Linked DNA regions of Homo sapiens: regions 2, 3 and 4 are each linked to region 1. The links are contacts of gene promoters, found by promoter capture Hi-C in blood cells and fetal thymus (Javierre and others, 2016). All regions are on one chromosome and are shown on one strand. Each heading gives the region's core, a stretch centred on a gene start or on the middle of the fragment in contact. The rest is flanking DNA. Distances are from core to core; before and after follow the strand shown. Region 1 holds the start of TAF1L (TATA-box binding protein associated factor 1 like). Region 2 has its middle 83 kb from the start of TMEM215. Region 3 overlaps LOC107987060 (a long non-coding RNA gene). Region 4 has its middle 25 kb from the start of TMEM215.

Evidence for each region. Contacts are between HindIII fragments. The CHiCAGO score rates a contact against its expected background, and 5 or more counts as called.
Region 2: a contact is called between a fragment that was not itself captured here and the fragment with the promoter of TAF1L in region 1, in 1 of 17 cell types (M2 macrophages). The highest score is 5.1, in M2 macrophages.
Region 3: a contact is called between a fragment that was not itself captured here and the fragment with the promoter of TAF1L in region 1, in 1 of 17 cell types (M2 macrophages). The highest score is 5.8, in M2 macrophages.
Region 4: a fragment that was not itself captured here is called in contact with the fragment with the promoter of TAF1L in region 1 in 1 of 17 cell types (M2 macrophages); the score reaches 6.2 in M2 macrophages.

Annotation. Positions count from the first base shown.
Region 1 is chr9:32,634,016-32,637,099 of GRCh38, reverse strand. TAF1L (TATA-box binding protein associated factor 1 like) reads left to right here and starts at 1,431. Exons shown (of 1, transcript NM_153809.2): 1 at 1,431-3,084. The coding sequence starts at 1,521. The HindIII fragment of the contact is 7,933 bases long and covers 1-3,084 here.
Region 2 is chr9:32,865,488-32,868,571 of GRCh38, reverse strand. No RefSeq gene overlaps it. Among named protein-coding and RNA genes, the nearest start is that of TMEM215, 83 kb to the right of the region's middle. The HindIII fragment of the contact is 3,619 bases long and covers 1-3,084 here.
Region 3 is chr9:32,837,575-32,840,658 of GRCh38, reverse strand. LOC107987060 (a long non-coding RNA gene) reads left to right here. Exons shown (of 2, transcript XR_007061452.1): 2 at 1-61. Among named protein-coding and RNA genes, the nearest start is that of TMEM215, 56 kb to the right of the region's middle. The HindIII fragment of the contact is 1,001 bases long and covers 1,058-2,058 here.
Region 4 is chr9:32,807,156-32,810,239 of GRCh38, reverse strand. No RefSeq gene overlaps it. Among named protein-coding and RNA genes, the nearest start is that of TMEM215, 25 kb to the right of the region's middle. The HindIII fragment of the contact is 837 bases long and covers 985-1,821 here.

The sequences.
Region 1 (3,084 bases), core at 182-2,681:
TGAAAAGGCAATTGACAGAAGAGGAAAAACAGTTGGTCAATAAGTGTATGAAAAGTTAGCCTTCAGTAGCAATCAGAAAAATACAAATTAAAACCACATTATCATTATACATTTATTAGAAATGAACAAAAATTAACAAATGACAATGCTAAGTGTTAGAATGGATGTGGAGAGGTGAGAACTTTTATACACTGCTGTTAGGTATGTAAAATGGTACAACTACTTTGGAGAACAATTTAGTAATAGCAAGTGTAGTTGAAAAAGCATATATTGTAAAATCTAGTAATTCCACTCCTAGATGTATACCCTGGAGAATGTGTCCTACATATGCTCAAGGAATCATATACATTATTTATAAGAGGAACAATTTGGGAACAATTTAAATGAACAAACATAGGAACATAGATAAATTGTAGCATAACCATACTGTAGAACACTATAGAGCTATAAAAATAGAATTGAATGCATCAACATAGTTGAATATCATAAACATAAATTTTATCCAGAAAACATTCTGGCTAAGAGTACATACAGTAAGGTCGGGTTTGGTGGCTCTTGCCTGTAATCTCAGCACTTTGGGAGGCCAAAGTGGGAGGATTGCTTGAGGCCAGGAGGAGTTTAAGACCAGCTTGGCTAACATAGTGAGATCCCATCTCTTAAAAAAAAGGAAGGGGGAAAAAAAAAACGAGTACACACAGTAAGATGCCTTTTATACAAAATTGTAAAGCATGACAATGCTATAGATTATTTGGAGAAGCATACATATGCAGTTCATGTATAAAGAGATTTACAGAGGCTGGGTGCAGTGGCTCACGCCTGTAATCCCAGCACTTTCGGAGACAGAGACGGGCTGACCATCTGAGGTCAGGAGTTTAAGACTAGCCTGGCCAATATGGTGAAATCTTGTCTCCACTAAAAATACAAAAAATTAGCCAGGCATGGTGGCTCATGCCTGTAATCCCAGCTACTGTGGAGGCTGAGGCAGGAATCTCTTGAACTCCTGAGGTGGAGGTTTCAGTGAGCCGAGATTGTGCCACTGCACGCCAGCCTGGGGCGACAGAGCAAGACTTTGTCTCAAAAACCAGCAAACAGGCTGGGCGCGGTGGCTTACGCCTGTAATCCCAGCACTTTGGGAGGCCGAGGCAGGCGGTTCACGAGGTCAGGAGATCGAGAGGCTAACATGGTGAAACCCCGTCTCTACTGAAAATACAAAAAAAAAAAAATTAGCCAGGCGTGGTGGCGAGCGCCTGTAGTCCCAGCTACTCAGGAGGCTGAGGCAGGAGAATGGCGTGAACCCAGAAGGCAGAGCTTGCAGTGAGCCAAGATCGCGCCACTGCACTCCAGCCTGGGCGACGTTGCGAGACTCCGTCTCAAAAAAAAAAAAAAAAAAAAGTTTTGCGGGTTTTTCCCCCCGCCCCTTTGCCCCCTCCCCCCGCCTTTATTCAGCTTCCGGTAGACGCTGGTAGGGTAAGGGAGCTAAGTAGATCACTTCCGGGCGACTGTTGTTTTATTTCCGGTTTATGCGACCCGGCTGCGATTTGCTGCTGAGGGCAGCAGCTACCGTCACTGCCGCCATCATGTCAGACTCGGACAGCGAGGAAGATTCATCTGGAGGTGGCCCATTTACTTTAGCGGGTATCCTTTTCGGCAACATCAGTGGAGCGGGGCAGCTGGAGGGGGAAAGCGTCTTGGATGATGAGTGTAAGAAGCACTTGGCAGGCTTGGGGGCTTTGGGGCTGGGCAGCCTAATCACTGAACTCACGGCAAATGAAGAATTGACTGGGACTGGCGGTGCCTTGGTAAATGATGAAGGGTGGATTAGGAGTACAGAAGATGCTGTAGACTATTCAGACATCAATGAGGTGGCAGAAGATGAAAGCCAAAGACACCAGCAGACGATGGGGAGCTTGCAGCCCCTTTACCACTCGGATTATGATGAAGATGACTATGATGCTGATTGTGAAGACATTGATTGCAAGTTGATGCCTCCTCCACCTCCACCCCCGGGACCAATGAAGAAGGATAAGGACCAAGATGCTATTACCTGTGTGTCTGAAAGTGGAGAAGACATCATCTTGCCCTCCATCATTGCCCCTTCCTTTTTGGCCTCAGAGAAAGTGGATTTCAGTAGTTACTCTGATTCAGAATCTGAGATGGGACCTCAGGAAGCAACACAGGCAGAATCTGAGGATGGAAAGCTGACCCTTCCATTGGCTGGGATTATGCAGCATGATGCCACCAAGCTGTTGCCAAGTGTCACCGAACTTTTTCCAGAATTTCGACCTGGAAAAGTGTTACGCTTCCTACATCTTTTTGGACCAGGGAAGAATGTCCCATCTGTTTGGCGGAGTGCTCGGAGAAAGAGGAAGAAGCATCGTGAGCTGATACAGGAAGAGCAGATCCAGGAGGTGGAATGCTCAGTAGAATCAGAAGTCAGCCAGAAGTCTTTGTGGAACTATGACTATGCTCCACCACCACCCCCAGAGCAGTGTCTCGCTGATGATGAAATCACGATGATGGTTCCTGTGGAGTCCAAATTTTCCCAATCAACTGGAGATGTAGATAAAGTGACAGATACCAAACCAAGAGTGGCTGAGTGGCGTTATGGGCCTGCCCGACTGTGGTATGATATGCTGGGTGTCTCCGAAGATGGCAGTGGGTTTGACTATGGCTTCAAACTGAGAAAGACACAACATGAACCTGTGATAAAATCTAGAATGATGGAGGAATTTAGGAAACTTGAGGAAAGCAATGGCACTGATCTTCTGGCTGACGAAAACTTCCTGATGGTGACACAGCTGCATTGGGAGGATTCTATCATCTGGGATGGGGAGGATATCAAACACAAAGGGACAAAACCTCAGGGTGCAAGCCTGGCAGGCTGGCTTCCTTCTATTAAGACTAGGAATGTAATGGCTTACAATGTTCAGCAAGGTTTTGCACCCACTCTGGATGATGACAAACCTTGGTACTCCATTTTTCCCATTGACAATGAGGATCTGGTGTATGGACGCTGGGAGGACAATATCATTTGGGATGCTCAGGCCATGCCCCGGCTGTTGGAACCTCCTGTTTTGGCACTTG
Region 2 (3,084 bases), core at 174-2,673, 230 kb before region 1:
GGGCCAATGCATTTTTATTCAGTAACAATGGCTTGGTGAACAATTATTTGGATGAAACTCAAATGCATAACCAAATTTAGGAGTTTTTGAATTATTTATTGTCTTCTGTCAGAACATTATAGTAGTCTCTTAACTTCAGGAAATTAATCAAGAACATCTCACTGTTATGTGGTTAATTACATTCAGTTTTAATTACAATTGCTAATTGATCCCAGCCTACCAGCTTGACATCTGGGTGCAGCAGGCCCACCAGGATAGTGGCAGGCAGGTAAATGCACTGGAGAGCTTCTGTGGGTTACCTCATTAGATAAGTTAGTGGTTGCTAAGAATCTGGGAAGCTCACCTTGGGGGCAACAGGTATTACCAAGAAGGGTGGGTATCTGGATTCCCTGAAAGTTTTCTCTTCAGTTTGAACATCCTTGTTTTTCTCCATGAAACATAGATTCAAAAGCCCTTTATCGAGTGCACTGCTCTCTAGCTGTTGACTAACAGTTCTCTCCAAGCATGCATCTAGAATGAAACCCAACACTCCTGCCACAATCCTGCCAGTACAGGGCAGATCGTGCTTCCCTAGCCTTGGACAACATGCCTCCACCCATGCTGCCATCTCTGGCAATGCTCTCATGTTGCTGGCTCATATTGAGCCTGTAGTTGGTCCAAACTCCAAATCTTCATATGTATTATTGCAACACCAACCTTCCATACTGATGTCCTTGTGAACTGGCCTTTTGGACTCAAGAGTAAGACTCTAAATCTTTCAAGGATGGACAATGTGTGCATTGCTCATGCCCATGGACCGCTCTAATATTAGTACCTTTCCTCTGAGTACAGATCTGGCCTCAGAATCCTTCCCAACACAGTGCTTCAGTCATCTCCAATCATCTCTCAGAGTTGGTACACAAGTACAAACCTAATAGTTTTCCTTGCTTTTCATTTACTTTATTATATCTTATTTTATATTTAACCCATCATGGCAAAGGATAAGTAGAGGTTCTTCTTAAGAACAAGAAGACGAGTGATGGCCAAAGGATTAGAGCTTGATAGAATTAATATCACAAATGTTTAGAGAACTTGAAAGTTGATTGCAGCAAAAGAACAATGGCTTTTATTAGAAAAAGTAATTATTCTCTTACAGTCTAAGGCCTTATTTTGTGCACAGATTATGCCAAAAACTTACCTATTAGAGGAAATCACAATTGCACTTCCCCACCGAGGTTCAGCTTCTTTCTGCTCCCACCACTCTTCCCTATTGCATCAGGTTGGCTTTAGATTCAGGAGAGGGAAGAGAGAAGGGGAGTAGGCCTATTTCCTCCTCTCTTATTCCAAAACACTCATACAGCAATATATTAATATCAGTTTTCAGTTCTTTCTTCTCTAAATAGAAATGGGTAGGGAATGGAAGAGGAAGATGCTGGGTTGACGGCAGTTTATCTTGGTTAAGAGAGAATGGGTTGGGTTGAAGTTTGGGGTTTTGCAAAATACAGCAACTAATCTTCCAGTTAGCAAAGGAGCCTGCAGTATCCTGCAGCTACATACTATTTCTTCACATTTGCAAAAGTCTCTGTGATTCACTGGGTTCAGCAAACTAAAGCATCTTTGCTTGATGAGTGTATAAAACATATATTATAGATGATAAAGCTGGACACAGATAATTGTTCTCTTAATATGCTCTACGTCAGGTATTTCAGACATCTCATCCTGCAGTTGGGAGGGGTTTCCTCATGTGCCCTTGACTTGGTGCCATTCTAATGTTGATAGAGAATATTTTCAGAGCCTGGTTTGCAAGAGCTCTCAGTTGTTAAATGTTCAGGTTGCTATTCATCTCTTCTTCCCTTTCTGCTTCTGACCAATGGGAAGAACACATAAGGAATAATAGCAAGAGAAGAAAGTAACACTTGTCCTCAGTATCAAGTCCCTGATATTCAAAGCAAATTCTGCTAAAAGCTGGATTGGAGAGCCAGATGCTGAAGTGCATGCTTCTACCACAGAGACCACATCTGAGTCATTAGACCCACATGCTCAGCCAGACGAGCGAGTGGGCATGTGAGCAGCTTGGCCTGCAGAGCAGACATAAAGTCACTTATCTGACCACCTACACACCAGGACTATGGGCCTACCTCACCCACCCCAGTTGTAGGTAGAACAAGAACAGCAGCTCTTCCCACAGAGGAGGAACTGCCCAGTGGTGCTTACCATGTGGGAGCAGTAATGGAAGAGATGGTCTTTACCACAGTGATGCCGCCCACCAGTAATGGTGACATAGTGAGTGTGAACTCCCACTCACCGATGATTCCTTTCCTTGGTGGGAAGTGAGTAAGGGGTAGGAGATACCAGAGAATTCCACTCTGAAGAGTGGGGAAAAGGCCCTTCATCTACCAGCTGGGACTTACTACAAGCATAAACATTCCTCCCCTCCCTGGCATCAGTTCTGAAAAGTACTGCTATTGTGCTATTCCTTGGAGAATGTCTTGCGAAGTAATTCGAGATGTGATGATTGGGGAAGCAAACTTAAGCTGAAAAGACAGTAGATATTTTCCCTCCCCTACTGCCTGTGTACTTGCATAAAGGATACTGGAATCTTGATTGGAGAAAAATGTTATGACTGGAAAGCTCCTCATGGATAACCTGCAAATCAATCTTTGGTTTATGCAAGGCAGCACCTGTGCCTCTGTGCTGATGGTGCAGATGTAGTAATGACCACGCTGAAATGCCAGCTGCAAGCCTGGGATTTAGGGAGCCTACTCTTTCCCTGGGGTGGGGGTTGGGTGAATCCAACTTAAAGAAAAACAAACATATGAGAGGTTGGCGTGGAGAGACTGAAAAGTCTGTGACTACTTGGCTTGTGAAAATTGCCTTTTGTTTCTGAAACAATATTATTTGTGAAGAAAATTCAACTCTCCCAGTGTAAGAACTCTTCTTTTTGTATTTGTATTTTATATTGGAATGCACTATGGCAATGATTGAAAAACACCGTGAATGAATTTGGGAATTAGGCCAAGTTAGGTTTAGGATCTAGCTCCATTACCTATCAGGGGGACCTTGGCTAAGTTACGTCACTTCTCTGAGCCTTGGTTTCCTCACTTA
Region 3 (3,084 bases), core at 309-2,808, 200 kb before region 1:
ATGGTAAGGTTTTCTCATGTCTTTATTAATAATGATTAAAAAATTAATTATTCACCTCTGAGTTTGGCCAGTGGAATTATCTGGAATGGTGGTTTTGGGGCTAAGTTCTATGATATCTCATTGCATGAAAACTAACAATAAAACCGTCATGTATCAAATACTTAGTCATATGTCAGGCATTGTGCTAAGGGCTTGACATAGATTATTTGATTATGGTATATATCTTCACAACATTTCTATAACCCAGATATTATTATAATCCCCATTTCCCAGATGGGAATGCCAAGACTCAGTTACTTGTCCAAGGTCACGTAGCTTATAAATGCAGAGTCAGGTCTTAGACCTGTCTGATTTAAGAGCACATGCTACTGATCACTTACTACTTTGCTTCTTGTGGTCAGTAGGGAATTTAGAGATTTACTCCAACTGAAGAGGAACCTTAGGCCCAGGAAAGTTAAAAGACTTAGCTAGGTTCCCTTTGTTAGTTGGCAAATTTGAACCGCCCATGACTTAGATCTCCTTAGCTCATGTCCTTTTTGCTCAAGGTGAAATAGGCAATTTGGGCTATAGGAACATCTGCAATTTCTATTTATCAATATGGAAAACCCTAGAGTTGTCCTGTCCTCTTCCTGGCTTTTTCATCTTGTATCCAGACGGCCAGTCAGCAAATCCTGTTGATTCTTTTACCACGGTGTCTTCCATGTGGTAGCGCTTATGTGAGATAATGGTTATGAGTCTGATTCCAGCTGGGTTCAAATCTCAGCTGTGCCACTTCCTGCTGGATGATTTTGGGCAAATTAGTTAGTCTCTCTGGGCTTCAGTTTTTTGGTCTGTAAAATGGAGAGGAGAATGTCGCCTGCCATATAAGATTGTTTTGAGGATTAAAAGCACATGGAGCGCTTAGGATGCCTGGCATAGCATATGCTCAGTCAGTGTTATTATTCACACAGCTTTTCCTTTTCTGCCTCAGGGCTGGTTCAGATCTTCATCTTCCCACATCTGGACAAAACACAGTCCTCTAAGCATCCTGTCTCTTACACTATTATGAGATGAAGCTTGTCTTGTTCTCTTGCTCAAGAATATAACTGCCTATGGCATCATATCCAGACTCTCCAGGCTTACATTCAATGCCCCACATGACTAACTTCTTCAGCCTTTGCGATGAGTTAAGACAACTCTACAGTTTGGGGGCACAGTCCTCACATGACTTCCCTCACTTCTGACATGAGCTGCAAATTTGGTAATGCGCAGGCTCATCCTTATTTCAGACCAGCTGGCTACAAATCTGGGGACTCCCACAACCACCCTCAAGTTCAATAATTTACTAGAATGACTCACAGAACTCAAGGAAGTGCTATACTTCTTATTGTAGTTTTATTACAGTAAAAGGATACAAATTAAATTCAGCTTAGAGAGGAGACACATGGGGCAGAATCCAGGCGGGGTCTAGTGCCAGCTGCCAGTCATTTTCTCCCTATCGGGTCATGGACAACACTGCTTCCTCCTGGTCACCATGTGCAACGAGACACACAAAGTGTTGTCAACCATGAAAGATCACCTCAGCCTTTGGTGTTCAGAGATTTACTGGGGCCTGATCACATCCTGCCTGAGTGGCTGACCTTGAGTTTCCAGCCACTTCTGGAGACTGGAGATCAAGCTAATATCTTTAGTTGTTCCTCCAGAGGTCATAAATGACACTGCGTGGCCCTAAGGCCACAATCACAAATCACATTGGTAGGCTGTTAGTAGCCAAAGCTCCCCAGCAACAAAGACTCAGGCAGGGCATTCTAGGGGCCTAGGAACCAACTCCCAGTACCTTAGGGTAAAAGCCAGACTTCTTTTTGGGTAAGGTTAATTGTTTACTACACAGCCTTATTTCCCATTGCTCTTCTGCAGGACATCTCCTGCCAAACAAGGTAATACTCAAACGGTCCCATACCATGCAGTTTTTTTTTCACCTGTAATATTTCTCCCTTTACTTCTAAAATGCAGAAGCACTTTGCATTCCATGAGGCTCAGCTTAAGTCTTACTTACCCCTAGAAACTTTGCCCAAAGCTTTTCTAATCACCCACTTTTCTAACTAGTTGGTGTATGCCTTGTGTGGCTTTGCAATGTGGCTGGTATTCATAGACTTCCCTGAGCCTTATATCTCTCTGAGCCTATGTGTCCACCCAAAGTAATTGCTTAGAAAATGCTTATTATTGATGATAATTTTCCTTGTGTCTAAGGCATTCGATAAATCTCTTGACATGAACTGAACTGTTTCTTCATGATTGTAAATTAGGCATCTTTGTTGGGTGTATCTTATTCTTTCTGATGATTTGGGCTTTAATTTAGATATGTCACTAAGTGAATTATTAGATCCTAAAACAATCAAATTCAAATTGACCTTCAGAATGTTTGCAAATGAAAACAACAAGTGGTGGGTTAACATAAGTGGTCCCCAAGAGGTCAAAAAATGTTTCCCTGGAACCAATGCACTGAGTGAGACTGGCTTGGCAGTTATTTTTACTGTGACCCCTTGTGGGTTAGACCCTATAAAAGTTGGGTAAATCTCATCCAGAGAGCTCTTTTGAGAAATAATGATGCCTTGTTTTAGTATCCCGAGATCCCAGGATTGAGCACTTAGTTAGGAAGGACCACTGTCTGCAGGGTAGAAAGATGGGTTTTTGCTACTGCTGGGTAGACAAACAAGTTCCCTCACCCCCAAAACAGAACACCTTTACCAAGGTGTCTGAATGACTGGCTCCATTCAGACATGGCCTCAATGTCCATGCCTCAGTTGTCATGACAACCGTGTATGTGTGTTTGTGTGTGTGCACATACATGTGTGTCTGCTGAATGGTGTCTGGAAGCAGCACCTTCAGCATCCAGGCAGAAATAGGTGGGGTGTGCTGAACAGGGAGTGTCTACCCACTCATTTAAGCAACAGTGTCAGAAAAGGTTGAAGATATTATTCAGCATCAGAATTTCAATTAAACTCCCAATCAGCTATTCCATCATTCATACGTTCAAGGTTAGTGTCTAAGTATCTAAGTTCTTATTCTTTATTGTACCAATACACACTATGATTCAGCAGTGTT
Region 4 (3,084 bases), core at 154-2,653, 170 kb before region 1:
ATATTTAGTTTTGTAAGAAGCTGTCAAACTGTGTTGCAAAATGGCTATACCATTTTGCATTCCTACCAGCCATGATTGAAGAGTTCCTATTGCTCCACAGAATTGGTGTTGTCAGGATTCTGGATTTTGGCCATTCTAATAGGTGTGTAGAGGTATCTCATTGTTTCAATTTGTAGTTTTCTGATGACATGTGAAGCAGAGCATCTTTTCTTGTGCTTTTTTTTCCCATCTGTTTATCTTCTTTGGTAATATGGCTGTTCAGATCTTCTGCTGATTTTTAAATTGGGTTCTTCACTTTTTTGGGGGTGGGGACAGAGTCTTGCTCTGTTGCCCAGGCTGGAGTGTAGTGGCGTGATCTTGGCTCACTGCAACCTCTGCCTCCCATGTTCAAGTGATTCTCCTGCCTCAGCCTCCCAAGTAGCTGGGACTACAGGCACACGCCACCATACCCAGTTAATTTTTGTATTTTTAGTAGAGGTGTGGTTTCACCATGTTGGCCAGGATGGTCTTTATCTCTTGGCCTCATGATCCACACATCTCGGCCTCCCAAAGTGCTGGGATTACAGGCGTGAGCCACCACGCCTGGCCTGGTTCTTCATTTTCTTACTGTTGAGTTTTAAGAATTCTTGGCATATTTTGGATAACAACTTTTTATCAGATACGTCTTTTGCAAACATTTTCTGCCAGTCTGTAGCTAGTATTCTAATTATCTTGATACTGTCTTCAGCAGAATAGAAGTTTTTACTTTTAATGAATTCCAGCTTATCAATTATTTCTTTCATAGATCGTGCCTCTGGTATTATAACTAAAAAGTCATAACTATATCTCAGGTCATTTAGATGTTCTATGCTATCTTTTAGGAGTTTTATAGTTTCGCGCTTTACATTTAGGCCTATGATCTGAATTTTGAGTTAATTTTTTGTGAAGGGTGTAAAGTCTATATTTTATGTGTAGCTGTCCAGTTGTTTCATATATTAAAAAGCTTTATCCATTGTACTGCCTTTGCTCCTTTGTAAAAAAAGATCAATTGACTATATTTATGTAAGTTGATTTCTGGGCTCTCTATTCTGTTTCATTGATCTATTTGCTATTCTTTTGTCAATAACACACTGTCTTGGTTACCGTAGCTTTATAGTAAGTCTTGAAGTTGGGTAGTGTCAATCGTCAAACTTTGTTCTTTTTTTTCAATAATGTGTTGGCTATTCTAGTTCTCTTGTCCCTCCAAAGGAAGTTTAGAATCAGTTTGTTGGTATCTATAAAATAACCTCACAAGATGTTGACTGGAATTGTGCTGAATCTATAGATTAAATTGGAAAGAACTGACGTCTTAACAATATTGAGACTCCCTGTCCGTAAACATGGAATATCTCTACATTTATTTAGTTCTTTGATTTCTTTCACCAGAGTTTTGTAGTTTTCCTCATGTAGATCTTGTATAAATTTTGTTAGGTTTATACATAAAGTATTTCATTTTGGAGGTGGTGCTAATACAAAAGATATTATATTTTTAACTTCAAATTCTACTTGTTTATTGCTGGTATATAGAAAAGTGATTGGCTTTTGTATGTTAGCCTTGTATCTTGCAATCTTGCTATAATTGTTTATTAGTTGAAGGAGTTTTAAAAATCAATTATTTCAGAATGTCTATGTAGACAATAATGTCTAAGTCATGTGCACAAAGACAGTTGTATTTCTTCCTTCCCAATGTGTATACTTTTGTTTTCTTGTCTTATTGCGTTAGCTAGGTTGTCTAGTTTTATGTTGAAAAGAAGTGGTGAGAGGGAACATCATTGCCTTGTTCCTGATTTTTGTGGGAAAGCTTTTAGTTTGTTACCATTAAGTATGATGTTAGCCATAGGTTTTTTGTAAATGTTCTTTATCAAGTTGAGGAAGTTATCCTCTATTGCTATTTCCTGTGACTTTTTATCATGAATAGATGTTGGATTTTGTCAGATTTTTTTTGCACCTGTTGATATGATATGTGATTTTTCTCCTTTAGCCTGTTGATATCATATATGATGGATTACATTATTTAATTCTCAAACATTGCACTAGCCTTGCATACCTAGGATAAATGCCACTTGGTTGTAATATGTAATTCTTTTTATACTTGTTGGATTTGATTTGCTAAAATTTTCTTGAGGATTGCATCCATGTTCATGAGAGATATTGATCTATAGTTTTCTTCTAAAGTCTTTTTTAGATTTTGCAATTAGGGTAATGCTGGCCTTATATTAATACAATGAGTTAGGAAATAGTCCCTCTTCTTCTGTCTTCTGAAAGAGATTGTAGAGAATTAGTATAATTTCTTCCTTAAATGTTTGGAGGAATTCACCAATGAACCCATCTGGGCCTTGTGCTTTTTGTTTTGGAAGGTTATTAAAATTGATTCAATTCCTTTAATAGATATAGGCCTATTCAGATTGTCTGTTTCTTCTTGTTTGAGTTTTGGCAGATTGTGTCTTTTAAAAAATTAGCCTATTTCATCTAGGTTATTAAATTTGTGGGCATAGAGTTGTTCATAATATTCCTTTATTATTGTTTCAATGTCCATGGGATCTGTACTGATGTCCTGTCTTCCTTTTTTTCTTTTCTTTCTTTTTTTTTTTTTTGGAAGTACAATACAGCCAAGAAATTTAATGCATTAAATCTGAAGGAACATAAGAAGTAATTAACAAATTTACATTAGAACACTTGGTACGCTCTGTCAGAAAGAAACAGATTCAGTAGGCATAATATTTAAAAGGGCAATTATAAAACTTGAACTGCATGATAAAAACAGGGTTATGTAAATATCATAATTATCTCATGTCAAGTCAGCAAATCTCCAGGGACAAAATTCACAAGCAACAAAAATGAAGAGAGGTCTATATACATCAAATTGACAATGGAAATCCTTACATTTCTACAGTTCTTTCTGCTGGCCTGATGACAAGAGCCCAGTCTGTTAAATTTTAGAAGTTACAAGGCAGCAGAAATCATTTTTGATATTAGTAATTTGTGTCATCTCTTTTTTTCTTAGTTAGCCAGGCTAGAGGCTTATTAATTTTTATCTTTTCAAGGAAACAGCTTTTGGTTTTGTTG